3 separate regions of the Homo sapiens genome follow, and regions 1 and 3 are each linked to region 2. Evidence: promoter capture Hi-C in 16 types of primary human blood cells and fetal thymus (Javierre and others, 2016). All regions are on one chromosome and are shown on one strand. Each heading gives the region's core, a stretch centred on a gene start or on the middle of the fragment in contact. The rest is flanking DNA. Distances are from core to core; before and after follow the strand shown.

Region 1 (4,230 bases), core at 961-3,460, 110 kb before region 2:
TTCTGCATTGGCTCAGCCCTCAGGCTTGCGACAAGATGGAGAAACAAGCAAACATCATGTATAATTATATCCAGGAGACAATCAAAAGGGGGCTTTTCTTATGTGTCTTAGGAGCAACAAATTTATACCACTCCCCACACCTGTCCTCGTATTGCAATGGCTGGAATTCAATAGTCATAATACATCCTTTGCTAAACCTATTACTGGAAAGGGAATGAAGTTACCTCAGTTAGTCTAAGGTAGGTGGTGTGGAATAATTGGAAGAGGTCTGGACTAGGGTTCAGAGATCTTGGGTTTTAGTCCTAGTTCTGTCATCTACTTAGTTATGGAAACTTGCTAATTGGGTAGCCTCTTTTAGACCTTACCTTTTCCTTATTGGTAAAACAGGGCCAACAATTCCCACCCTACTGATCTCACCAGGTTGTTGTGAAACAGGAATGAAGTCATGTCTGTAGAAACACTTTGTAAAGTGTAACACACTACTTAAATGCATGTTATTGCTTCTATTAACATGATTCAAAGAGAGCTGTTGATCATGAGACACTTTCAATTAAACTCATCTGTGGTACTTAATCTCATCAAGATGATAGTTTAGAATTTGTATGAGTTTTGTCAAAGATTTACCTAAATTTTACTTTTGTGCTGGCAGATTAATAGTGTAAAATAGGGGGAAAGTATGAAATTTAGTATTTAGAAAGCCAATTTTCAAGCGTCCGGATGAACTTCAACAGGAAATCTATATATAAATTAGGATAGGTCAATAAGATTGGTTATTTATAAGTTAAAGTAGTCATCAAAAAGTAAGTTTTCTAAGAAGCTATTATACACCTTTCTCATCCCTTCATTTATACCAATTCAGTAAACATGTATGGAATATTACCATGGGAGGAGGTGATGGGGTACACAAAAAATTAAATCTGAAACAGACCCTGCTGAAAGGACAGTGACTATCTAATAGTTAAAAATTCTAGAAAGCAGACTAGATAAAGCAGCTATAATAAAACGTAGGAAGATAAGAGGAAGTAATAGCTCAGTAATGAAGGGACAAAGGGCTGTAACTGCTCAGAGGGTGGAGACAGTTTTCAGCTGTGGTGTTAGGGAAGGCTTCATGGACAAGGTGTCACTTGAATTAGAAGCTGTCAGATTTGGATATGGAAATAGCAAGTTCATCTGTTCACGTATATCAAACTTGCTTCAAAAATTTGAATACCCAACTGGAAAGCATAATCCTTGAGTATAAATTACATGAGAGATGCAGCAAAATATAAAAGTTGGAAAGGTAAAGATTGCAGGTAGAATATAGAAGGGCTGAAATATCATACTCAGGAATTTGAACTTTATTCAGTAGGCAATGGAAGTCAGCAAAAGCTTTTGGGCAGTGTGCCTTCATAATATCTGTGCTTTATAAGGATTAATCGGGCAGCTTCTGGAAAGGTAAGTGCAAGGGGAGAAAGTGAAGGCTGAGAGACAAACTAAGAGTTTGCACATTCAAGCAAGAGTTCATGAGAACCCAAACTAGATTATGGACATTGAGATGGAGATGACATAATGGATATGTGATATTCTGGAGGGAGAAACCTTAGGTCTTGGTAATTTATATAAAAAAGAGTTGGGGAAATGGGGGAATCAGGGACCTTTCGTTAGGAAGTGATAAAAAAAAAGTCACCCAAACTTGACTTGCCTAAATAGAGAAGTAAATTAGGCTGGGCACAGTGGCTCACGCCTGTAATCCCAGCATTTTGGGAGGCCAAGGCGGGCAGATATTTTGAGGTCAGGAGTTTGAGACCAGCCTAGCCAACATGTTGAAACTCCATCTCTACTAAAAATACAAAAATTAGCCAGGCGTGGTGGTGCATGTCTGTAATCCCAGCTACTAGGGGAAGCTGAGGCAGGAGAATTGCTTGAACCCAGGAGGTGGAGATTGCAGTGAGTTGAGATTGCACCTTTGCACTCCAGCCTGGGCGACAGAGGGAGACTCCATCAAAAAAAAAAAAAAAAAAAAAAAAAAAAAGTAAATTTACCTATTAACTTAATTGAAAAGTCCCCAAAATAGGTCTAGCCTTGGAACTGTTGAACTACAGGGCTCAAGAAACATCATCAGGATTTGGGCTTCTCTACCACTCAGTTTTTCTTCTGTGCTGGTTTCACTTTAAGGTAATCTGCAGATGCTTTTAACTTATATTTTCCCAGAATTAAAACCAGCAGAAAAGAGAGTTTGTCTCCCTCATCAGTTCCAACAACTATCCTGACCCCGATTCCCATTGGCCAGGCAGGGTCACCTGCACATTCCTGAAGTAATCTCTCTGGCTACGAGAGATCATTGCTGATTGGCTTGGACTCATATCTGGTCTTTCTTATTCTTATTTTAATAATTTGCCCATGAAGACAGCCTAAGTATAGGCCACTATAAAATGCTGCCCTATGACCAAGATCAGATCTCATTCTGATGAATTCTTCCTAACCAAAAGACATGATTCGGAACAGTGACAGCTTCTTTTCATTCCATCAACTGCAATATTTTTTAAGGCATTTCTTAAGGGCCTGGCACATGGCTAACCTCATAAAATGAATAAAACCAAAACTATTTCTAGGGCCGTATTCAAACTGGAGAGTACAAACCTACATAAATGCTAAAAAGATTTCAAGTCTGGGAAAAGGGTACAGATTATCTGAGGGGTGACAAAGGAGTAACTATTAACCTAAGCCTTGAAGCAGCTTTACATCAAAACAATCTAGGCAGGGCACGGTGATGCATACCTGTAGTCCCAGCTACTCAGGAGGCCAAGTTGGGAGAATTATTTGAGCCCAGCAGTTTGCAGCTTCTGCAGCATAGTGAGACTCCATTATGTTTAAAATAGAACAATCTAGGCAAGGCACTGAATGCCAACCAGATGTTGAAAAATCATTTGGATTTAATTTGAAATAAGGTAATTGCTTGAAAAATAACATGCACCATCTGCCTGATCTGAATCTTCTCTTTATACAGCACTTATCTAAAGAGTGTACCTAAATTAAAAGTTTACTAAGTGTTTATGGGTATGAGGAAAGCTTATGCCTTCCAGAGAATACTATGAAAATTCCTCCGGTAAAGAAAAGCAGCATTCATTCTGTGAAGTGAATCTCTTGCCCCAGTACTGATGGGTACGCATCCCCATTTTCACATACTGGATTTGCTTTAAAGCCAGGTACTCACACCTGAGCTGCATGAAGGAAAAATGTTGAATCCCATCATAAGACTGTTAAATTTGAGCTCTGTTTTATTAAAAAGAAAATGTCTACTTGAAAAGTGTTTGGCTCATGCCTGTAATCCCAGCACTTTGGGAGCCTGAGGCAGGCAGATCACCTGAGGTCAGGAGTTCGAGACGAGCCTGGCCAACGTGGTGAAACCCCATCTCTGCTAAAGTACAAAAATTAGCTGGATGTGGTCGTGCCTGTCTGTAATCCCAGCTACTTGGGAGGCTGAGGCAGGAGAATCGCTTGAACCTGGGAGGCAGAGGTTGCAGTGAGCCAAGATTGTGCCACTGTACTCTAGCCTAGGCAAAAGAGAGAGACTCCATTTCAAAAAAAAAATAATTAAAAGTGTTAAAGGCACAAATGCAGCTTGAATCAAGTTGTTACCAAAATCCACGCTGCTGTGTGCATATTTTTAAACATATAGCAGAGCCACTCCTTCAATTTTCCAGAGTGACTGTCATCCTGCTGATGCAAACTACTGTAACATGTAATTTGGAATGAGATCAAAAGTTTGAAAATTAGAAAAGAATCTGGGTGGAACACTTGATTTTTGATACTGCAAAGCAGATGAGTGTACTGGTTTAGCCAGAGCTGGTTGTCCCAATACAATACAATCAACAGGTCTTGTAATCAACAGTTCCCGGGAGGCTGCAGGCTTGCTGCAATGTCAGCTGGATTTGTGAAGCCCAGGAAGCCTCCTGGCCCTCATTAGACTCATAAAAATCATCCTGAAGAAACACAGATGTTAACAACAACACTGATAGAAGACCCAGGTTTGGAGGGAATCACTTTTTTTCTCAATTATGCAACTTCCTAACTGGTCACTGGGAAGGCAGGGGACAGGTGGACGGGAAGGATGATGATTTTAGAGAGCTGTATTTCCTTCATTTATCTGAGTGCCCCGACCAAGATATAAAAAGGAGAGACCAGGGAAGAGAGTTTGCATTTGGTGATCTGCACCTACCATAGTGCCTGACACATAGTTCATGCTCGATA
Region 2 (4,159 bases), core at 1,143-3,642:
TGAACTTCAGTAGAGCACATACATGCCTTTCCTACTACAAACAATATTTTCCAGCCCTCCCTGTAGCTTGATATGAATGTGTGACTTAGTTTTTACCAATGGAATGTGAGTAGAAGTAATATATACAACTTTCATGTCACTTCCACAGAACAGATTTGCTTTGGCTGGGCATAGAGGTTCACGCCTGTAATCCCAGCACTTTGGGAGGCCGAGGCAGGAGGATTGCTTGAGCCCAGGAGTTCAAGAACAGCCTAAACAACACAGTGAGACCCTGTCCCAATTAAAAAAACAAATCGATTTGCTTTCCCTCTGTTTCCTTGTTCCCGCTTTCCACGGCTGGGATGCTAACATGGTGTTAGCGCTGTGTAGAGGCGGGCAACAGCTACAGAAGAGCCTGGCAGCAAAAGAGAAAACCTGGGTCCCTGGACAACTGTATGGAACTGAGAAGCCACCACCTCCTCTTGCTACTGCCTTCTGTCACTGCTCCTGGTGGACCTGCCTTTAACCTTTTCTTTCCTGTCACCAAAGAACAAACACACACACAAAACAACATTGTAGAATTATGCCTGGGTTAAGAGAATATAGGCCACAGGTGAGGACATGTAAGAGACTTTTATATGTAAACTGTACAAGCTTTAGTGAATTGATGCTATAAAAATTATGTTCGCTTGTTTGGAAACCTTTGTTGTTTACATCCTGGTTTCAAATGACTAAAGTTACCTATTAGATATCCTCCAGGGGAGGGAAAGGTCATTGTATTCAGCAAGGGCAAACTGGTTCAACAATCAATTTCCAAATATTTGCATGCACTAGATACCAAAGATGGAAACACACATGATCTCTGCCCCCCAAAGATGTTGACTGGTGGGAAGAAGTGCCAATATAAAAATAGTGTTGAAAGGATTTAGTTAATACTATTGGTTGCACACAATCACACATCTGACACAAACTGGTTTAAGGCAGAAAAAAAGATCATTTATAAGCTTATGTAAATATGCAGTCCAAGAGTAAACCTGACTTCAGGGATGTAAACCCTACTGGATGAGAATCTTCATGGATGGGGCCTGGAAAGCTGTATTTTTGCCCCATCCTTATTTCCTACCAGGTAATTGTAATTCTGTTTTGGAAATAACTATTTTACGTAGATCATTCAAGTTGAAAATTAGATATTACACAGGGAGGAGAGAGACTGCAGGAGGAGACGATTATTCCTGAAGGGATGAGGGAATCCTGAACTCAGGCAGGAGCACCCCTTAGCACATTATGGGCCATGATGTCTGCTTGGTACTTACAACGGGGCTAATGCTGGCACCGGGAGCTTTGAAGGGGTGTCAGCAGAGGACCGTGCCAACTGTCTGTCAGTAAGTCTAAGGGTTCACGATCCTTATGAAAGTGGCTGCCACTTCCCTTCACCTAACAACTATTTATTGTGCAACTACATACCAGGCAGTGAGCTAGGCAGTGAGGACACACAGGTTCACAGGCAAAGAGCCTCTCTTCATGAAGCTTACATTCTAGACAGGAGATAGTCAGTAAACAATCAGAAAAACAAGCGCGCTACTGACTGTGTTAAGTTCTCTAAAGAGAAAAACCCCTTCACTCTATAGTTCCTAGTGCAGGCTGACATTGAATGGGATAGAGGAAAGGCCTTCGAGTTGACAACTTAGTGGAGAACTGAGAGGTGGGAATGAAGTAGTGGTTTGCAAGGCTGGAGTATGAGCCTTCCAAGGAGAGGCAATAGCAAGTGCAAAGGCCCTGCAGTGGGAGGGAACCAAGTGGGGTGAAGACACAGGAAGGATCAAGTATGGCCAGAGATCAGTGAGAAGGAAAGAGTAGAGTAGGATAAGTCTGAAGAGGCTGGCAAGAGCCAGTTTATGGGAAATCTTGTAGGCCCTGAAAGTTTGGATTTTATTCCACACACAACAAAGTGTTTGCTTTAAAAGGAATCTCCTGACTACTGTGTGGAGAAAGTATAAAATTAAGTTTGGGGCTAGATGGACCCCAAGATCCCTGTCTGGCCCCAATAACCCATGGCAAACTCCATGGGGTCCTCAGAAGTCCTCTTAGTAACTGTGGCTCCTATGTCAATGATGCTTAATAGAAGTATCCGCAAAAACAGAAATGTTCTGTATCTGCATACAAGTGGCTCTTGAACTGGAAATGTGGCTAGCGTGACTGCAGAACTGGATGTTAAATTTTATTCTATATAGACTAATTTATTTACGTTTATATAGCCACACGTGGCGAATGGCTATTATATTGGACAGCACAAGGCAACACTGAGCACCGAATGCCTGAGGATTTCTACTCCAAATCCTGAAGGCACGCCCTTCCCCGAATGTTGGGAGAGTGCGAGGATATGCTGACCCCCAAACGCAAATCCCCCTCTGTGCATTTAGTCTTGCCAAGATGGAGAGTCTCAGGCGGGCATTCTGAGCTGCTTCTTGTCACTGGGGAAAACCACGTGCACGCAGTGCTGAGGCGCCCCACGCGCGTCCTCAGGGGAAGCCAGGCACTGAGAACAAAGGTTGTGGGACCGCTCTTTGAGGAACTCACCAGCTCCGCGAGCTCGCGGCCGCCAGCGCGGTCCACCCATTGGCGGGAGAGGACTCACAGACCGCAGCTCCTCACCCCGCCTGCTCCGCAGCGGGACCGCGTAGACCTCAGCTCCCCGAGCAGCGCAGGTGGGCCAGGGAAGGAGAGGACCGAGGCAAGCCACCACGCGGGATTAGGGGTACGGGGACCCCTCGCCGCGCAGTCGCCTCTTTTTCACAGGGATGGGGGCAGGGGTGGCGCCGGCTGTCACCCGCACCGGATCTGCTTCCAGGGCTTGGTTTCGCTTTGCCTGGCTCTTGGCTAGGCCTGGCGCCCCGCGCGGAGCCGAGCAGGTGGCAGCCGAGGAGTGGCGGGGGCTGGAACATTTAACCCTTTGGGAGCACCTGCCCTCTCCCAGAGGGCGCGTCCCCGGATCAGGCCCGGTGCCCCGCAGCGCGCGTGGGTCCTGGCTGGCTGGAAGGAGGCCCTGACCTTGCTTTCTCTCCCGTGCCAGGTCTGCCAAGGACCATGGGTGCCGCGCTGGGGACAGGCACGCGGCTGGCTCCCTGGCCGGGCCGGGCCTGCGGCGCCCTCCCGCGCTGGACACCCACCGCGCCCGCCCAAGGCTGCCACTCCAAGCCTGGCCCGGCGCGCCCTGTGCCCCTGAAGAAGCGCGGATACGATGTCACCAGGAACCCTCATCTCAACAAGGTAATGGGCCAGAGGGCAGGACGGCCCGCGTTGCGATCCCGTGGCTGCCGGAAAATTGCGCCCCGCCCCCTGGACCCAGAAAGGATCCTCCCGGGCGCCCTTCCAGCGGTTTTTCTGTTTTTGCCTTGCAGGGGCTTGTTGTGACTTGGTTTGGCTTTCTTGTCCCTCCTCTCCCTTTTATGCGTGGAGAGAGGCGACCAGTAATGCAGGGAGCCTAATTTCTTCTGCAGTAACAACACAGACCAGGTTTAGATCCTCGCGGTCAGTCTGACCTGCGGTCAGCTCTCCCCTTGATGCTTACTAATTTTATTGGTCTTGGGCAGTTCATTTAACCTACATGAGCCTAGGTTTCCTTATCTGTAAAAGAGATATAATTGTCTTAGGAATGTCGTGAGATCTAAAGAGAAAATGCGGGTAGAAAATGGGGGTACGTTAGAACAGTGCCTGGTACCCAGTGGGAGAATAAATAAGGTTATGATTATTATTCTGAGAAAAAGATTAATTTGAGAGCAAGGATGGAAAAGTCTAGACTTATAGAAATTTTCGAGCTTGCAGGAGCATTAGAGATCCTAGTTTAAACCTCTTCTTTTACAAAAAACAAGACAAAGGAAACTTGCCCAAGGTCACCAGCTAGTTAGTTCTGGCTCTGCCACTGGAATCCAGATCTCCAATGCTTTGGTCGAGTTCAACCCACCGCTAGCTCTTTTGTATTTGTTTTTGGGAATAGAGTTTAGTATCTTTGGTTCAGAGGATTGGGTGAGAGAAATAGAAGCAAGGACAGATTTAGTCCTGTCTCCCCCTACCTCCTCAAATTAACTCACATATCTCATTTAACTTATCTGAGGCCCAACTTTCTCCAGCCTAAAATAGATATTATGATAGACCCACCATTTCTATCTCATTTGGTTATTGT
Region 3 (4,103 bases), core at 770-3,269, 72 kb before region 2:
GGTAAAAAGATTTAAGTCCTTTTCCTGTCCTAGTGGATTCCTCAGCCCTCTTGCAAATCAGGGGATGACAATGAATCTGTGGGGAAAGGAGCAGTGCCACTATTTTTGGGAGGTGGGGCAATATTACCTGAAGCAGCAGTTCTTGCTCAGCCAAGATTTTTTTTTTATTAGATTTCAAACACAGGCAAAAGAACCAGTGCTTAGCCAACTAGTCATAGGCCTCTAATTAGAATCAAAGGTTAGTTTTGAGGTGGAAACTAACAGTTAATTTAGGTCAGTGTTTCCAAATTGTGAGCTACATACCCAGAGTCTGTGGATTACAATACTCCAATGCAGAGGATGCCAAACATCACCTAGACTATGAAGAAATAGCACATCCTGCCCACTCCACATGCATAGAATACTATTTTTCAAACATATGTGCCCCTGCTGAGATTAATAAACTATAAGCGCAACACAAAGTGTTATCGCATTCATGATCGTTTTAAACTGTTATGTGTTTTCTCTCTTTTTTTTTTTTTTTGGTTATGTGTTTTCTCAAACAACCAATATAAGAATTAATCTACATTTACATAGAGGTGGTTTTGGAAATTTTTTGACTTAAAAAATTGATCCTCGTATTGGAAAAGTTTGTGAAACTTTGTGCTAGAATTCTACCTCCTAGAATTACATGTTGGGGTGGCAGGGGGCATTGTAAAATGCAACCCAAGTCTAGGATTCTGTATCTAGCAGTCAAGCCCAGGGATCTGTTTTAGTTCACTCGCCCAGTGATTCATCTGCATACTGAAGTGTAGAACCTGAGATCAGGTCAACCCACTTATCCCATGGCTGAGGGAATTCAAGCTCCAGAGAAGGGAAGTGACTGGGCCAATGTCATAAAACATGTGGTCAATAGAACCTCCTTTATCCTATGTCTCCACCCCACAGCGAAAGGAAGAGCAAGCTACTCTCACCTGGGAGGTCCAGCTGGTGAAGACCACAAGAGACTGTCTCCAGTGGGTGAGGTGTTCTCCCTCCAAGGCTTTTACTATTCACCCTCGTCTCTCACAAATGCCCCAGATCAGGCTGGCCGGGCCACTACCTCACTGATCTCTATATGTTCAGCATTTTCTGTCTCTCCCAGCCCTTGCCAGAGCTTCTCCTGCTTCCTGATGTCCCACCTCATCCTGCCTATTCTCTCCAGTCCCAGTTCTGAATTGCTATTTTCTGAATGCTGTGTCCCCCTCAAATCTGTAGGTTGAAACCTATTCACCAAGTGATGGTGCCAGGTGGCGGGGCCTTTGGGAAGTGACTAGGTTACAGGGCAGAGCCCTCATGAATGGGACTCATACCCTTAGGAAAGAGCCTTGAGGGAGCTCATTTACTGCTTCCACATGTGTGGTCACAGAAAGAGGCATCATCTATGAACAAGAATACAGGCCCTCACCAGACACCAAATCTGCTGGTTTCTTGATCTTGGACTTCCCAACCTCTGGAGCTGTGAGGAATAAATTTCTGTTGTTCATAAGCCATCCAGTTTCTGATGTTTTTGTTATAGCAGCCCAAACAGACTCAAATACCAATTCTGTCTCAAAAATGTTTTTCAGGACCATCCTAAGCCTAAGTATCACTTTGTGGCCTTGAAACCCCTCCACACCCTGGAGTGTGCTTGTGTTTATACTGTTTTGTGTGTGGAGGATGGCTAGGTTGTGTTTCACATAATGTCTAATGCAGAGATGTGCTGAAGTTTCTTACTTGATGAATGAAAGTGCTCAAATGTGGATGACACAAACTCCAAAACTGTTTAGTGTGGAAATACTCACCATTTAGCCTTTTATTTATTTATAACCACTTTTTGAGCACTTTGTGTCATGCCCAAAGATGCAAAATGGACCAACTGTAGTCCTTCTTTCTCTTTCTTTTTTTTTTTTTCTTTGAGATGGAGTCTTGCTCTGTCGCCCAGGCTGGAGAGCAGTGGCGCGGTCTCAGCTCACTGCAAGCTCCGCCTCCCAGGTTCACACCATTCTCCTGCCTCAGCCTCCCAAGTAGCTGGGACTACAGGCACCCACCACCACGCCCGGTTAATTTTTTTGTATTTTAGTAGAGATGGGGTTTCACCATATTAGCCAGGATGGTCTCAATCTCCTGACCTCGTGATCCACCCACCTCGGCCTCCCAAAGTGCTGGGATTACAGGCGTGAGCCACCGCACCCGGCCAGTCCTTCTCTTAAGGGCTATGTGTGCTGATGGTAGTTTAGATCTCTGCTGCTGTTTGATTTTTTTGTATATTGGCAAAAACTTAATTTTTTTGTACCCCAATAAATGATTATTTAACATTGTAAACAATTAGCAAAATTGTGAGGAAGAGCAGTCATTAATGGAAATAAATCCTTAATGAATAATATAATATTTAATCAATTATAAAGCATATCCTATATTCCAGGCTATTTATGAACAGGATTTCATTTATTCCTCCATGCAACTCTTCAAGTGCACTGTTATTTCTGTTTTAATAATGGAAAAAATGAAGCAAGTGACTTGCCTAAGATCCTATCAAATGTGACACCGGAATTTAAATCCAGGTTTGTGTAATAACCAAGCCTGTGACCTTAATCACTGCTCTATGTCACCTCCCCTGTCCCCAGACAGCCTTTCTGCACCAGGGTTTCATAAACACTGAAGCATAAGCAGTTGCTAGGGGATAATGAATGACACTGAGTCACTAAGGGCAGCCAGCAGATCTGAAGTGATTGATGAATTTGTTACCAGTAAGTGGGGTTAGAAATTACAAAACAACATTAGAATCTATTGCACACAACCGCAAGCTGTCAGTGAGGTGAGACATGCAACAAGCCAAGGTATGTCTTTATTCTCTGATGCGCGGTTTGGTGTCTCAACAAGTCTTCCCAGCCATTTACCCCAGAGCCTGCTCTTTTTCAAGGGTGGTTCTCTAGAGGCAGTCTGGAGAAATTAGATTATAAAAGTTTGTCCCCAGCCTTTTTTGCCTGACTCATGGTGTGGTCTCAAGCCAGTGAGTCACCAACCTGTGACTCAGTTTTCACAGCCTACGCAGGGCTCAGAGTTTGACTGTTGGGCTCCCAGGGAATCCTGGGAATCCTGGGCTATACTTCTCTCCTTTGGCTTGTAAGAGTATCTTTTAAACTGTCAGAGGTGCTCATGGGTGGCCCAAGAACAAGGAAACTGAAGTGGCCTCACCAAGGGGGTCAGCCTCTGTTTCTGCTGATGCTATGTAATACTGAGTGTGGATCCTCTGCTCTGTGGGTGGTGCTCTGTGGCAACGGGCTGTCAGAGTGGACCAGTACTCTGAAGAGGAAAAAATTATCTGTGTGAAGAAACATGGATTCACTTCAAACCTGTCCTTTCCGAGCTACACTGAGTAAACTGGGACAGCTTCCGGTCCTCCATCCAGGTCACAACCCCACCCCCACAGTCCTCTGGGTAAACTCTGGTATGAAAAATTCATTTCGGATTTGACCAAGGAGCTCAGAAGTTTATGTGATGGGGAGCATAGACTATATCTTGGGAACAATTAGGTCTTCAAGAGGTCTCCATCCTCTGCCTACTTACAAACAGAACACAGCTCAGGTGAGCATCCTGGGAGACACCATTCCCAGTATGGGTTGTTTCAGCGATGGGACATAAGATGTTTGGAATGGGCTACTTCTTGCCATTAGTTCACCTGACATACCAAATATGATCAATATCAAGATTAAAAAAATGAGCATGACAACATATCCCCAAGATGTGGATTTTCAAGAAAAGGGCTCATGTACCTTCAGTCTTGGCCCTCAGCCAGGTCAAGAGTAGAGGAAAGGGTCAGAGGGACCAGCTTGGAGAGAGAATTAGAGAAGAGATTCCTTTGGAGAGAGCTGTTACAGCCCTCTCCCTTAGAGGGAGGCATGGAGGTGCTGCAGGAGAACGTGAAAAGATATTTCTTGCACGAGGGACCATAGAGAACTAGTCCTGAGTAATGTCTGGGAGAGCAGACCATGACTGGGTCCTGGCTCCTGCCCGCTGTGGGCAGAGGATGAGAGAGGAGTAACTTGCTGTCTAGGTTCAGGAACCAGGAGGTGTGCTGGGTGGGTTTGGAATGCATTCCCAGA

The links. The method cuts DNA at HindIII sites, captures the fragments that hold promoters and counts their contacts. A CHiCAGO score of 5 or more calls a contact.
Region 1: a fragment that was not itself captured here is called in contact with the fragment with the promoter of ME3 in region 2 in 2 of 17 cell types (megakaryocytes and endothelial precursors); the score reaches 8.3 in megakaryocytes.
Region 3: a contact is called between a fragment that was not itself captured here and the fragment with the promoter of ME3 in region 2, in 1 of 17 cell types (M2 macrophages). The highest score is 7.3, in M2 macrophages.

The regions. Positions count from the first base shown.
Region 1 is chr11:86,784,054-86,788,283 of GRCh38, reverse strand. No RefSeq gene overlaps it. Among named protein-coding and RNA genes, the nearest start is that of PRSS23, 14 kb to the left of the region's middle. The HindIII fragment of the contact is 1,680 bases long and covers 1,371-3,050 here.
Region 2 is chr11:86,670,849-86,675,007 of GRCh38, reverse strand. ME3 (malic enzyme 3) reads left to right here and starts at 2,392. Exons shown (of 15, transcript NM_001161586.3): 1 at 2,392-2,684; 2 at 3,050-3,246. The coding sequence starts at 3,064. RefSeq lists a silencer at 1-21. The HindIII fragment of the contact is 7,449 bases long and covers 1,509-4,159 here.
Region 3 is chr11:86,742,489-86,746,591 of GRCh38, reverse strand. No RefSeq gene overlaps it. Among named protein-coding and RNA genes, the nearest start is that of PRSS23, 56 kb to the left of the region's middle. The HindIII fragment of the contact is 5,887 bases long and covers 1-4,103 here.